2 separate regions of the Homo sapiens genome follow, and region 1 is linked to region 2. Evidence: promoter capture Hi-C in 16 types of primary human blood cells and fetal thymus (Javierre and others, 2016). All regions are on one chromosome and are shown on one strand. The core of a region is centred on a gene start or on the middle of the fragment in contact, and the rest is flanking DNA. Distances in the headings are between cores, read along the strand shown.

Region 1 (6,176 bases), core at 2,039-4,538, 250 kb before region 2:
GTGGTGAAGCCCCATCTCTACAAAAAAAAATTTTTTTAATTAGCCAAGTGTGGTGGTGCGTGCCTGTAGATCCAGCTACTCGGGAGGCTGAGGTGAGAGGATCACCTGAGCCCAGGAGGCAGAGGCTGCAGTGAGCCAAGATCATGCCACTGCACTCCATCCTGGGCAACAGAGTGAGACCCTGTCTCAAAAAAACAACAACAAAAACAAAAACAGAGGTAGTATATTCTGAAGAGTAGAAGGGCAGGCTTGGGGAATATGCCAAGGACTCCATTTTTCATGTGTTAAGTTCAGGTTGCCTGTGAGGCCTCCAAGTGCAGAGGTCAAGGTGTAGCTGAGGGAAGTCTGGCCTGAAGCTGTACCACTGGAGCCATCAGCAGACGCTAATATTGAAGGTTATGGGACTGAATGAAGTCATCTAGGGAAATGGTGTGAAGAACCAAGAGAGGAGAGTCCATGGCTGAGGCTTCATAACCCCAAATTATCTCCCTCTGTTGTAGGAGCTGGACCCTGCCTGGAGGTGGGCAGGTCCTCCTAAGACTTGAGGGAATAGATCCCATTCAGAAGTTGTGAACATGGCTCAGTTAATAGATACGGCCTGTCCCTCAGGAAACACCCAGAATCTGATGCTGTGGCATGTTCCACCCCTGAAATCCCTTTTTAGCCATGAAGTAGCATTCCTTTCTCCCAGCACTGATCTCTTCCCAGAATAGAGTGGCCAAATGATGTTTTAGAAAACTCCATGTTTTGGGTTGTCAGGGATATGAAAACACCAAGAGAAAAATAAATGGCAGCTCCAAAAGTCTTTCCTTCCTAGGAGAGAAGGAGCACCTGCACACTCAGCCCACCATGTCATATTGTGTTGTGATTGCACGTCTGTGTCTTCCACTAGGGACTTTGTCTTAATTGGCTGTTCTATCCCCAGACTTTAGCACAGTGCTTGCATGAAGTAGGTCCTAGGTATAGATTGGATGGATTGATGGATGAGAGGATGCCTGGATAATGCAGGGATGGACAATGGATGGGTGGGTAGATGCAGGATAGATTTTTGCATGAATTGATTGATGTGCCAGTGCACAGATGATTTAGGTCTGCAGGATGGATAGATGGCTGAATGGTTGGATGGATGGATGGATGGGAGGATATCTGGTTAATGCAGAGATGGAGGTTGGATGGATTGATGAATACAGGATAGATAGGTAGACAAATGCATATGTGGTTCAGGATGGATGGCTGCATTGAGCAGAGGTGGAGGATGGATGGACACAAGATGAATAGATATGTGGGTACAGGTGGATAGCTGAACAAAGAAAATCTCTGATGCTGAGCACAATGTTGTTATTCAACAAATTGTCATTGTCCTCATGTCCAGGCTGAATGAGTTAGAGTCTAGTGATGCTCCAGAGGGTTGGTTTAGTCCATAGCAGCCATGGCTGGTTCTTCCCCACTTTCAGTCAGTGCACAGGACTCCTGAGAGAGTGTAATTAAAGGGTTCAGACCTGTTTGCAGGTAGAGGAGAGGAGTAGAGGAGTACAGCCACTAATGTGAACCCTGTACTCTACCTCAGGAGTCCTGAGGCAGGAGGAAGAGAAGAACTGTGTTCCTTCCAGCCACCACTACCTCTTTGGGTCAGTAGCCCAGGTCCAGAAGATGTGGCCTGTCCACATTGGCTGCAGCCCTCACCAGCCCTCAGCAGGGAAGGCAAAGACAGTGTCAAATGATAAACAAAGGGCTGTTGAACCCTCCCAGTGGGACTGTGGAACCCTCCCCAGAATCTTTTCAATAGTTTATTTCTTTGTTGTTTAATAGACCTATCATCCCCCAGTGGCTTAATTTTTTTAATGGAACTTGTTCTGCGTTTGGATATTACTGGCGAATTACTTGATATTATGGTCATCCTCATTATGTCTTTTTTTTTTTTTTGAGATAGAGTCTCACTGTCGCCCAGGTTGGAGTGCAGTGGCGCAATCTCAGCTCACTGCAACCTCCGCCTCCTGGGTTCAAGTGATTCTCCTGCCTCAGCCTCCCGAGTAGATGGGATTACAGGCCTGCACCATCACATCCTGCTAGTTTTTGTCTTTTTAGTAGAGATGGGGGTTTCACCATTTGGCCAGGCTGGTCTTGAACTCCTGGCCTCAAGTGATCTGCCCGCCTTGGCCTCCTGAAGTGCTGGGATTACAGGCATGAGCCACCATGCCCGGCCCATCCTGATTATGTCTTAAGTGAAGCAGAGAATCTCTCAAGCTAAAGTTGCTGTCAGGCCATCTCAGGTGTATTTAACATGCTGTAGGGCACCTCCAGTTTCACGATATTACCCAAGTTCCTTTATAATAATAATAATAATAAAAAGCTTCTTAGAAGCCTAACTCCCCATTAGACTGTGTGCTGCATCATGGGAATTCAGAGGACCAGGCTCTAAAGACCTTGACAGTGCAATAAATTGCTGGACCTCATTCCCATTCATTGTCCCAGAGCTGTGAGAGGCCTGAGGAAATGAATCTTCTCTTGCTCTCTAACTTTGGGTTATTTATCCTTAGATCCTGCAAGGCCTTGTCGATGTCCGCATCCCTCATAACAACTTCTACCGAAAGTGTAAGTAGCCCTACTTTCAGCTTGGAGCTTGTTACAAGTGAAGCTCTGTGGATGGATGGCTTTTATTTCTTAAATCTCTGACACTTTGAATGTCTCTTTGGGCCCCTGAAGAGAGGAAGTGGTGGCCTGGATCTGGTGACTATCCCTTGATTCTGCGGTGGTGCCACAGGCACAGTCCAGCACATACTCACTTTGTTTTCCTTTTCTGACAAGTGTTTTTGGAAATCGTCAGTGAGAAGTCCAGATACTCTCTCCATCAGAACATGGACAAGATCAAGGTTCCGACGCAGATCATCTGGGGGAAACAAGACCAGGTATGTAACACATCCCCGCGGCAGTCTGTGCTGGTCACCAGGGCCTCTGAGGAAAAACGTCCTTGAGGAAGAACAAGTGGTTATTTATGGAGTGAGCTGATCGCTGCTGTCAGGAAGAGGGGGAAGGCACCTGTGTTGGGTGCCAGTGTTGACAGTGGGCAGAGTTCTGGGAGTGGAGAGAAACAACATTTGGTCTGGTAAAAGGAAAGACAATTTTAAATCATTTTCAAAAATTGTTTTTATCAAAGCCATGTAGTCACATGGTATAAAAAGATCTTCAAAGAACACCAAAAGGTTTATAATGAAAACTTTTCTTTTTCGCATCCCAAATTCCATTCTCCATTACCATGAGGCAACTCTTATCTTACTATCTTGAATATATTTCTTTTCTTTTTTTCGTTTGAGACGGAGTCTTGCTCTGTCACCCAGGCTGGAGTGCAGTGGCCCAATCTTGGCTCACTGCAACTTCTGCCTCCCAGGTTCAAGCGATTCTCCTGCCTCAGCCTCCCAAGTAGCTGGGATTACAGGTGCCCTCCACCATGCTCACCTAATTTTTGTTTTTTGTTCTTTTGTTTTTTTTTTTTTAGACGAAGTCTTGCTCTGTTACCCAGGCTGGAGTGCAGTGGCACAATCTCGGCTCACTGCAAGCTCTGCCTCCTGGGTTCACGCCATTCTCCTGCCTCAGCCTCTCAAGTAGCTGGGACTACAGGCACCCGCCACCATGCCCAGCTAATTTTTTGTATTTTTAGTAGAGACGGGGTTTCACCATGTTAGCCAGGATGGTCTCGATCTCCTGACGTCATGATCTGCCGGCCTCAGCCTCCCAAAGTGTTGGGATTACAGGCGTGAGCCACCACACCTGGCAATTTTTGTATTTTTTTTAGTAGAGACGGGGTTTCACCATTTTGGCCAGGCTGGTCTTGAGCTCCTGACTTCAAGCAGTCCACCTTCCTTAGCCTCCCAAAGTGCTGGGATTACAAGCATGAGCCAACATGCTTGGCCTAAATTTTTTAAGCCAGAAGTTAGCAAATGTTTTCTGTAAAGGGCCAGATGGTAAACATTTTCAGCCTTGTGGTCCAGTCTCTGTCACACCTGGACACAGTTGAGTAACTGTGACCTTATAGTATAAAAGCAGCCATAGGCAATATGTAAACAAATGGCATGGCTTTTTCCAGTGAACCTTTATTTATAAAAACGGGCAGTGAGCCATTGTTTGCCTACTCCTATTCTAAGCACACGTATAGTGTATATATATGCATACCTATACATATCTGAGCTTTCAAACATGCTAGATACACTGGCATCTAAGATGCATGTTTGAAAGCTTAGATATATATAGGTGTGCATATAAGATATATAAGATCATATATGTGTGTGTGTGTGTGTGTGTGTGTGTGTGTATATATATATATATATGTATATGTATATATAAGTAGGTATCTTGGAAATCATTTTATATCAGCCCAAACAAATCTATTCCTTCTATTCTTAAAAAAATTTTATCTTGAAATAATTTCAAACTTACAGAAAATTTGAAAGAAGGCCAGGCATGGTGGCTTACGCCTATAATGCCAGCACTTTGGGAGGCTAAGGCAGGAGGATTGCTTGAGCCCAGGAGTTTGAGACCAACCTGGGCAGCATAGTGAGATCCCATCTCTATAAAAAATAAATTTTTAAAAAAGTAGCCAAGCATGGTGGTATGCATCTGTAGTCCCAGCTACTCTGGAGGGTGAGGCAGGAGGATCACTTGAGTCCAGGACATGGAGGTGGCAGTGAGCCGTGATTGCTTCACTGCACACCAGCCTGGGCCACAGGGCGGGATCCTATCTCAAAAAAATAAAAATAAAAAAGAATACAGAGTATACCTGCATACCCTTTACCTAAATGCATCAATTTTTAACTGGCAGGAGGTCACACTGTGGCCACAAAGACCCACAAGTGCATGAATGACCCAGGCAGGAGAGAGTGGGGAGGAGCAGCCAGGCTGTGCCCATGGCGTGTACGCAGAATAAGAGGCAATGGTGTCTTAGATGAGCCAGGCATGGTGAGGATTCACAGCATGGTTTTGTGGACGTGGAGAGAAGGGGATCTCATGTGCTCTCTTCTGCAGCGCCAAGGGACTGAAAGAAGCTTTGTTTGTGCCCTGGGCTATGCCAGCAGAGAGTCATTTGATCAGGAATCAGAGCCTGAGCAGCGAAGGCCTTCTGTTGTTCTAAAAACCCCAAAGGTGATTTGGGGCTCTCAGGAGCCAACAGGGAGAGGCTGTAACCCATCTTCCTGTGGAGACAGCGCAGAAGCAAGGGCACTGGCCTTGGATTCTGAAAGTCTATGTTCCAGCCCTACTTTTGTCCTTGGTCAGCCCATGCATGACCTTGAGCAAGTAACTCAGCCCCTCTAAATTAAGGGTTTCTGAAACTTCTAGTACCAGGGTTATTTTGAGGCTCAAATGAAATAATATGTATGAAAATGATCTTCCAGTTGCAAAAAAGTTAGGTTAGCTGGTATTAGATTAGACTGCTCATGTCCTTTGCCTCTGTTGGTGGCTTCAATGCATGGTCCAAATTTTTTTCCCAGACTCAGAAGTCCGTTTCATTCCAGAAAAAGAGCCTAACATTCTATGGGCTTGCTATAAATGTGATCAGATCCTTCATGTGTTTTGTGGACTGTCCCTGGGACAGAGGCCAAATAGCAGAGGCTTCAGGGAGTCTTTTATTTCACAGCCTTTTGCCTCCCAAGCTCGCTGGCTCTTTTCCTGCTCTGTCATCAACATTTGGTGTCACAGCACCTGCCCCTACCAGGCCAAATTCAGCTTCCTTCTTCTTTGGACCCCTGTAGGCTGACTGCTATACTGCACAGCTGCAGGGGGAGCCATGTGCATTGTCATTTTTGTGAATGATGGATTTGGTCTGTATACAACCTGTACACCCAAACATGGCAGCCCTTCCTGAGAGGGTTTCTGCATGCTTCATTTCAAGCATCGCTCCTCTATGTTCAGTCCATCAAAATGGGAGGGCCATCTAGAGACAGACAGGCTATTATTCTTTATGTCCCTTCTCCCTGCCAGCACCGTGCCTGGTATGCAGGAGACCCAGAGTACACAGTGAGTGAGCAAACAAGTGAGAAATTGAGTGAACAAACCAACTAGTGAAGGGATAAACCCACTGACTGACTACACATTTAAGCCAGTTAACAGGCATTTATTGAGCACCTAGTATGTGCCTAACACTGTATTAGGCCCTGAGGATACAGTAGGGACCAAGACAGCCAGGA
Region 2 (5,816 bases), core at 1,278-3,777:
AAGGTGGGAAAGTGAATTGCCCAAGGTTACAAAGCTATGCAGTGGCAGAATTTTAGGACCAGAATCCAGGTCTTCTGCTGCCTAGGACTCTTCTATCCCCTAGGTGGGCTCAGGCAATATTGACATGTGAAGATTGTCTTTACAGTTCGAAGGAATGAATCTCTAACAGTGGAATTTCAAGGGCAAAGTTTGTTATTTGGAAGCAGAACTGCTAATGAAGGACTCTTCTTACAAGAGAAGCATGGGGCATAAAACAGATGTCCCATTCCCCAGCTTCCCCTTACCAACTTTCCTGCGGAGTGCAGTGTTCTGGGCACCTCCATCAAGGATGTTGGTGAGCCGTTCCACGTCAAAGGACTGCATATACCTCTCGCTCTCTATGTCGGGGTGCATTTGCCTGCTCCAGGTATCCCCCAATGACACTCGGTGCACTGGGCTGCCCATCCTATCCTGGATCTGTCTGGTGACTATGGAGAGACACTTCCAACCCGGCTGCTCCGAGGGTCTGCTCTCAGCATTGGTCAGTGCAAAGAACCTGTGTGCAAGAGGAACTGCCTAGGGCTGGGTGTCAGCCAGGGCTGGTTGGTAGAAGAAAGACATCCCTAAGTACCTGAATGCCACTCCACCTCCCCACTCCCCCTGTGGACACTGGCTGTGGACCAGGCACTGTGTGCATGGTAGGCATGGTATGCAGCCATTGCTTGGTACATGTTTGTTCAATACTTGTTAGCCAAAATTGGACAGGGCCTGACCCCAAAGATTGGGCTCTATCCACTGCAGTTTGAGTTACATGAATTGCCTAGGGAAATCTTCACAAAAAAGTCAGTGAAGCTTACACCTGAAGAAAATAATCCTGGAGAGGTTGAGTGGCCCCTAGCCACACAGCTGGAGATGGCCAGGAGTTGGATGGGGTCTGACCACAAAGCACATGACTTGTCCATACTACAGCTCCACTGTGGAGGATTGCTGGGGGCACCTTGGTCTCATTAAACTGCTCATAAGTTCTAGGATCACTCAGCTCCATTTCTATGAGCCCTGCAGGTATATTGTGGAACTGAAGGGAGGAAGCCTTCTTCCTGCCTGTGAAGTGTTCCCCTGGAGCCCCTGAGTGTCTTTCATACCCAGGTTGGACCCTGTCTCCTTCATGGCAAGTGCTTGGCCTCTGAGAAGCCCCTATTCCTCCACAGTGAGGCAACCATGAGGTGCAGTCCATCCTATTTCACAAGTCTCTTGAGTCCATCTGCTCCTTGCTATCTCTTTGGCTAGCATCCAGGCCACTGTTATCTCTTACTTGGCCTCAGTGTTCCTCTTATTTGTTCTCCCAGCTGCCAGGTGAACTCTTGAACTGCAAATCACATTGTTTTCCTCTCCTGCTTGGAATCTGCTCCTTGGGGCCCACTGTTTGTGGAATGGAGTCCTTGCTGTGTCTACCCAACCCTACTCCACTCACCTCTCTCCTATGTCAACTTACTGCCCTCATCCCTGGCCTCCACTCATTCTCTTCCTACCCTTTGCCCCTGCTGTTCTCTCTGAACAAAGTTCAGCTCCCTCGTTCCCTGGGTGCTCTAGGGTTAGGGACAAGTTCTTATTTGCTTACATGTTCCTCCCACAAGGCCTGGGAGGCCAGCTCTGCATTTCCTAGCTTGCAGCAGGTATGTTGTAAATCTCTCCGGCAGGCTGCCATGCTTTTGATCCCCTTCCTTCCTGACCTCAACCTGACAGATGCACTGCTGTTATTACCATTTTATGGAGAGGATGTGGGCCTTGGAAAGGGAGGAGACTTTATAAGGGTCATGCAACCACATGTAGCAAATGATTCATATGAGGCTTTCAAACCAATACCCCCAGCAGGGCTGTGGGGGTGCTGGCAAGGGGCCCCATCCTCTGCCCCCCGGAGTCCTGCAAGTGCCCCTAGTGCGGCTCCTCTCGTCCTGCCTTACCTCTTTTCCTTGCTCTGCTGCCACTGCCTCCTTGCTGTTCTGAATGCTCCAGGCCTCCCTGCCACTGCCAGCATTTGCTAGGGCATCTCCATCTGCCCAGAACACCCTTTCTTCAAATGTCACTAGGGCTTTTTGCATTGAACCTCATTTAACCTTAAAGAGGCCACCCTCTTTAAAACCCCAAGCCCCCTCCCCCGGCATTCCCTGTCCTCCTCACTCTGCTCTCCTTTTTCTCTTTTCACTTATCCCCTTCTGACATTTGAGATCATTTACTCATTTCATATGTTTTTGTTTACTTCCATCTCCCTGCTACTAACACAGAAACTGCAAGAGGGCCGGGATCTTTGTCACTGTCATGCCGTGACCCTAACACTTAGTGCAGGGCCTGATTTGCAGGAGGTGCCCAGTGAAGAAAGCCTTGCTCAGGGTCTCTCGGAGCTGCGGACAGGGTCATCATGGGGGCAGCCCTCTCCTCTGGGGTCTCCCAGTCCCTCCCTGCCCAAAAACCTGGCTCACCTGGCTCCCCTCTGTCCTGTGTCCGCACTGTAGGCCGGGCTGGCCTCTCCCCGGCTGTAGGCCGCAGCCTCTGGCAGGCTTGTGGTCCTGCCCTTCTCTCCTCCCACATAGGGGCTGGAACACAGAAGCTGAGAGAAACTGCTTGGCCAGCTCTCAAGCCCTTGTCTGCTCTCAAGCCCTTGTCTGCTCTCAAGCCCTTGTCTGCTCTCAAGCCCTTGTCTGGGCTTATGGAGCTCCTCTCCTTCCTCCCTCTCTTCCTGCATGGGTGTGACCTTTGTGCCTGTCGCTGGGGCTGCCCTGGGAGGACTTCTGGGAGGTTGGAGCCCTTACATCTCAAAGCCAGGGATTCCTTTGACACTACTTGTACCAAAAAGCTGTGTACCCCAGCAGTGTTTCCAAAGTGATATCCTGGTCTTCCCTGATCTTTCACTGTGTGCCCTTCAGGCACTCAAGCTGTTAATATCACACGAGCTTAATAGGCTCCCCTGAGATGGTCCTCATGTGAAAGGATTGCTCTGTAAGGTGTACGTTTTTCCTCTCTCCCCATGTTTCTGCTCTAAAATATGGCTTGTCTTATGCTTAGCATCCCCTGACATTCCCTGGAAAAATATTTGTGAAGCATCCATCTGTAGTGTGTGGGATCCAGATGAGAGCTGGGTCTTAGTGAGAGGAATGAGAGGCTTAGAGGTTCCCTCCCTGCATAACCACCTTGGAAAGTCAGATGCGGCTCCCCATTTTGCAGGTAAGGAAACAGGCTCAGGGAGGGATGTCACTTTGTTTGGGTTTGCACAATAAGTAGATTACGTAACACATTTGTGTAAGACTGGGAAAGAAATCAAGGGGCCAGTAGGAGATCAAGGCTCCTGTTCTGGCAGGACTTCTGAGCTATGTTGACTCTGAGCAGGTGTACTCCTTTCTGGGCCTTGGCCTCCCCTGTAATGCAAGGTATTTGCTCAGTAAGGAGCCTCACAGCACCCCATCATATCCCCAAGGTAGTGTCTAGCTTGTGTCTGTAGGAAGAGGCAGGACCTGTGGCCCAAGCTTTGCAACTTATCACCTAGTAGGTCCTTCTGGAGCTGTGGGGCTCAGACTCCTGGCAGTCCTCATTGCTGTGGGCAGTGGTTTCAGGGAAGGTGGTCTTGGCCCCACTGTTTGGAGGTGAAAGTTCTTACTTACACCTGGACTCATCTCCGCCAAGGATTTATGCTATCACTGACCATGGGCAATGACTTAGTTCCTCTCTGCCATAGAGAAAGGCTTGGATTGCAGGAAGTGCCCAGTGAAGAAAGCCTTGCTCAGGGGCCCTTGGAGCAAGGCTTTTTAATAAACTCTCCATGTTTAAATTGTTTTCTCATCCGCTTTGAAGCTGACCCTGTTCTGTATGTTTTGGATGTGATCATTTTGATTTGTTGCACTGAAATCTTGAATTCTCTAGCTTAAAAAGGCTTTTTAAATTACAAAATATTTCAAACTTGTACAAAAGTGGAGAGAAAAATATAATGAACCTGCATGTACCTAACACCCAGCACTAACAATGATCACACTTGTCTCCTTGTTCTTTGTGTTTAACTTTTTATTTTGAAATAACTTTAGAATTTCAGAAAGCTGCAAAAAGTTCTTGTATATCCTTCACTCAGCTTCTTCTAAGGTACAATTATGAAACCAAGCCATTAACACTGCTGCAATATTGTCAGCTAATCTTCAGAACTTATTTGAGTGTGTCAGAGGTTCTCCAAGATCAACCTCAGGTCCAGTGATTTGCTAGGAAGACTCATAGAACTTAGAAACTGTTATACTGAGCCAGGCGTGATGGCTCACGCCTATAATTCCATTGCTTTGGGAGGTTGAGGCTTGAGGATCACTTGAGGCCAGGAGTTTGAGACCAGCCTGGACAACATAGCAAGACCCTGTCTCTACCAAAAAAGATGTAAAAATTAGCCCAGTGTGGTGGTGTGTGCCTGTAGTGCTAGCTCTTTGGGAGGATGCAGTGGAAGGATTGCTTGGGCCCAGAAGTTCGAAGCTGCAGTGAGCTATAATGGAACCACTATACTCTAGCCTGGGTGACAGAGTGAGACTTTGCCTCTAGAACAAACAAGAAGAAACTGTAATACTCATGGTTACAGTTTATTACAGCAAAAGATTACAGATTAAAATCAGTAGAAGGAAAAGGTACATAGCACGAAGTCTAGGAGAGAATAGACTGAGCTTCTAGGTGTCCTCTCCCAGTGGTGTTGTATGGACAGCATTTAATTCTCCCAACAACGATGTTTACAATATGCACGAAGTATTGACAACCAGGGAAGCACACTTTTGAGGCAGGAGAACAGCAGAAGGAATTGGAGGTTGGATAAAGGGTGGAATGAGCGAAAGCAGAAGCAAGGTGAAGGGGTGAGTGAGCAAGAAGCAAGAGAAGAAGCAGAAGTTAAGCAGCCAAAACAAAAGTAAGATAAAAAACTGAGTAAAGAGACCCCATGGCTGGCAAGATCCTGACCAAACCAGTAAGGGGCAGCTCCTCCGAGATAGGCATGCTCATTAGAGCGAAAAAGCATCTTTAACATGACCCCGTATGATAATCAGCTCATTAAAGCTCATGCATATGGACTGCATATCATGCATGTACTTGAGATTATGGAACGGAGGCGACGTGCAAGCGCACAAGGGCCAAACAAAGTAAGCAACATGCCTATCAATCAAAAGGCAGACACTAGCTAGAGACTCGGCAGCCTTGGGAAAAGAAAGGGAAAAAAGAACACATAAGAAGACCACAAGCCCAGGAAACTGATGCTGATCTCATCTCGCAGAGGTCAGCCCACTCTGCCCTCTTTGAGAGTATAATGCTGTGCTTAATAAACTATTGCTGCTGGCTTTGCTACTTGTGTGTATCACGTCCAGTTTTTTGGTTTTTTTGTTTTTTTGTTTTTGAGACAGAGCCTTGCTCTATTGCCCAGGCTGGAATGCAGTGGCTCACTGCAACCTCTGCCTCCTGGGTTCAAGCAATTCTCTTCCCCCAGCCTCCTGAGTAGCTGGGATTACAGGCATGTGCCACCATGCCCGGCTAATTTTTGTATTTTTAGTAGAGACAGGGTTTCACCATGTTGGTCAGGCTGGTCTTGAACTTCTGACCTCAAATGATCCGCACGCCTCAGCCTCCCAAAGTGCTGGGATTATAGGCATGAGCCACAGCACCCGGCCCAGTCCAGCTTTTCGTTTGGGACACCAAGAGCCTGGAACTGCATGGCACCATCTGGCAACACCTTGGTGTCCAGAGTTATTGCAGTCATCACAGAGCCATGGGATGCTTGTGTGGCTGACCTTAGCTACTCAGTCTCCATCGACTCCAGATGTGAAACTCATAGAGTG

What was found. Contacts are between HindIII fragments. The CHiCAGO score rates a contact against its expected background, and 5 or more counts as called.
Region 1: a contact is called between a fragment that was not itself captured here and the fragment with the promoter of ACOX2 in region 2, in 8 of 17 cell types (total CD8 T cells, naive CD8 T cells, total B cells and 5 more). The highest score is 7.2, in total CD8 T cells.

What each region holds. Positions count from the first base shown.
Region 1 is chr3:58,282,548-58,288,723 of GRCh38, forward strand. It overlaps ABHD6 (abhydrolase domain containing 6, acylglycerol lipase), which reads left to right. Exons shown (of 10, transcript NM_001320126.2): 8 at 2,538-2,592; 9 at 2,806-2,906. Among named protein-coding and RNA genes, the nearest start is that of RPP14, 21 kb to the right of the region's middle. The HindIII fragment of the contact is 1,880 bases long and covers 2,349-4,228 here.
Region 2 is chr3:58,534,663-58,540,478 of GRCh38, forward strand. It overlaps ACOX2 (acyl-CoA oxidase 2), which reads right to left and starts at 2,528. Exons shown (of 15, transcript NM_003500.4): 1 at 2,457-2,528; 2 at 285-535. The coding sequence starts at 444. It overlaps LOC107984079 (a long non-coding RNA gene), which reads left to right and starts at 710. Exons shown (of 3, transcript XR_001740724.2): 1 at 710-1,652. The HindIII fragment of the contact is 2,666 bases long and covers 830-3,495 here.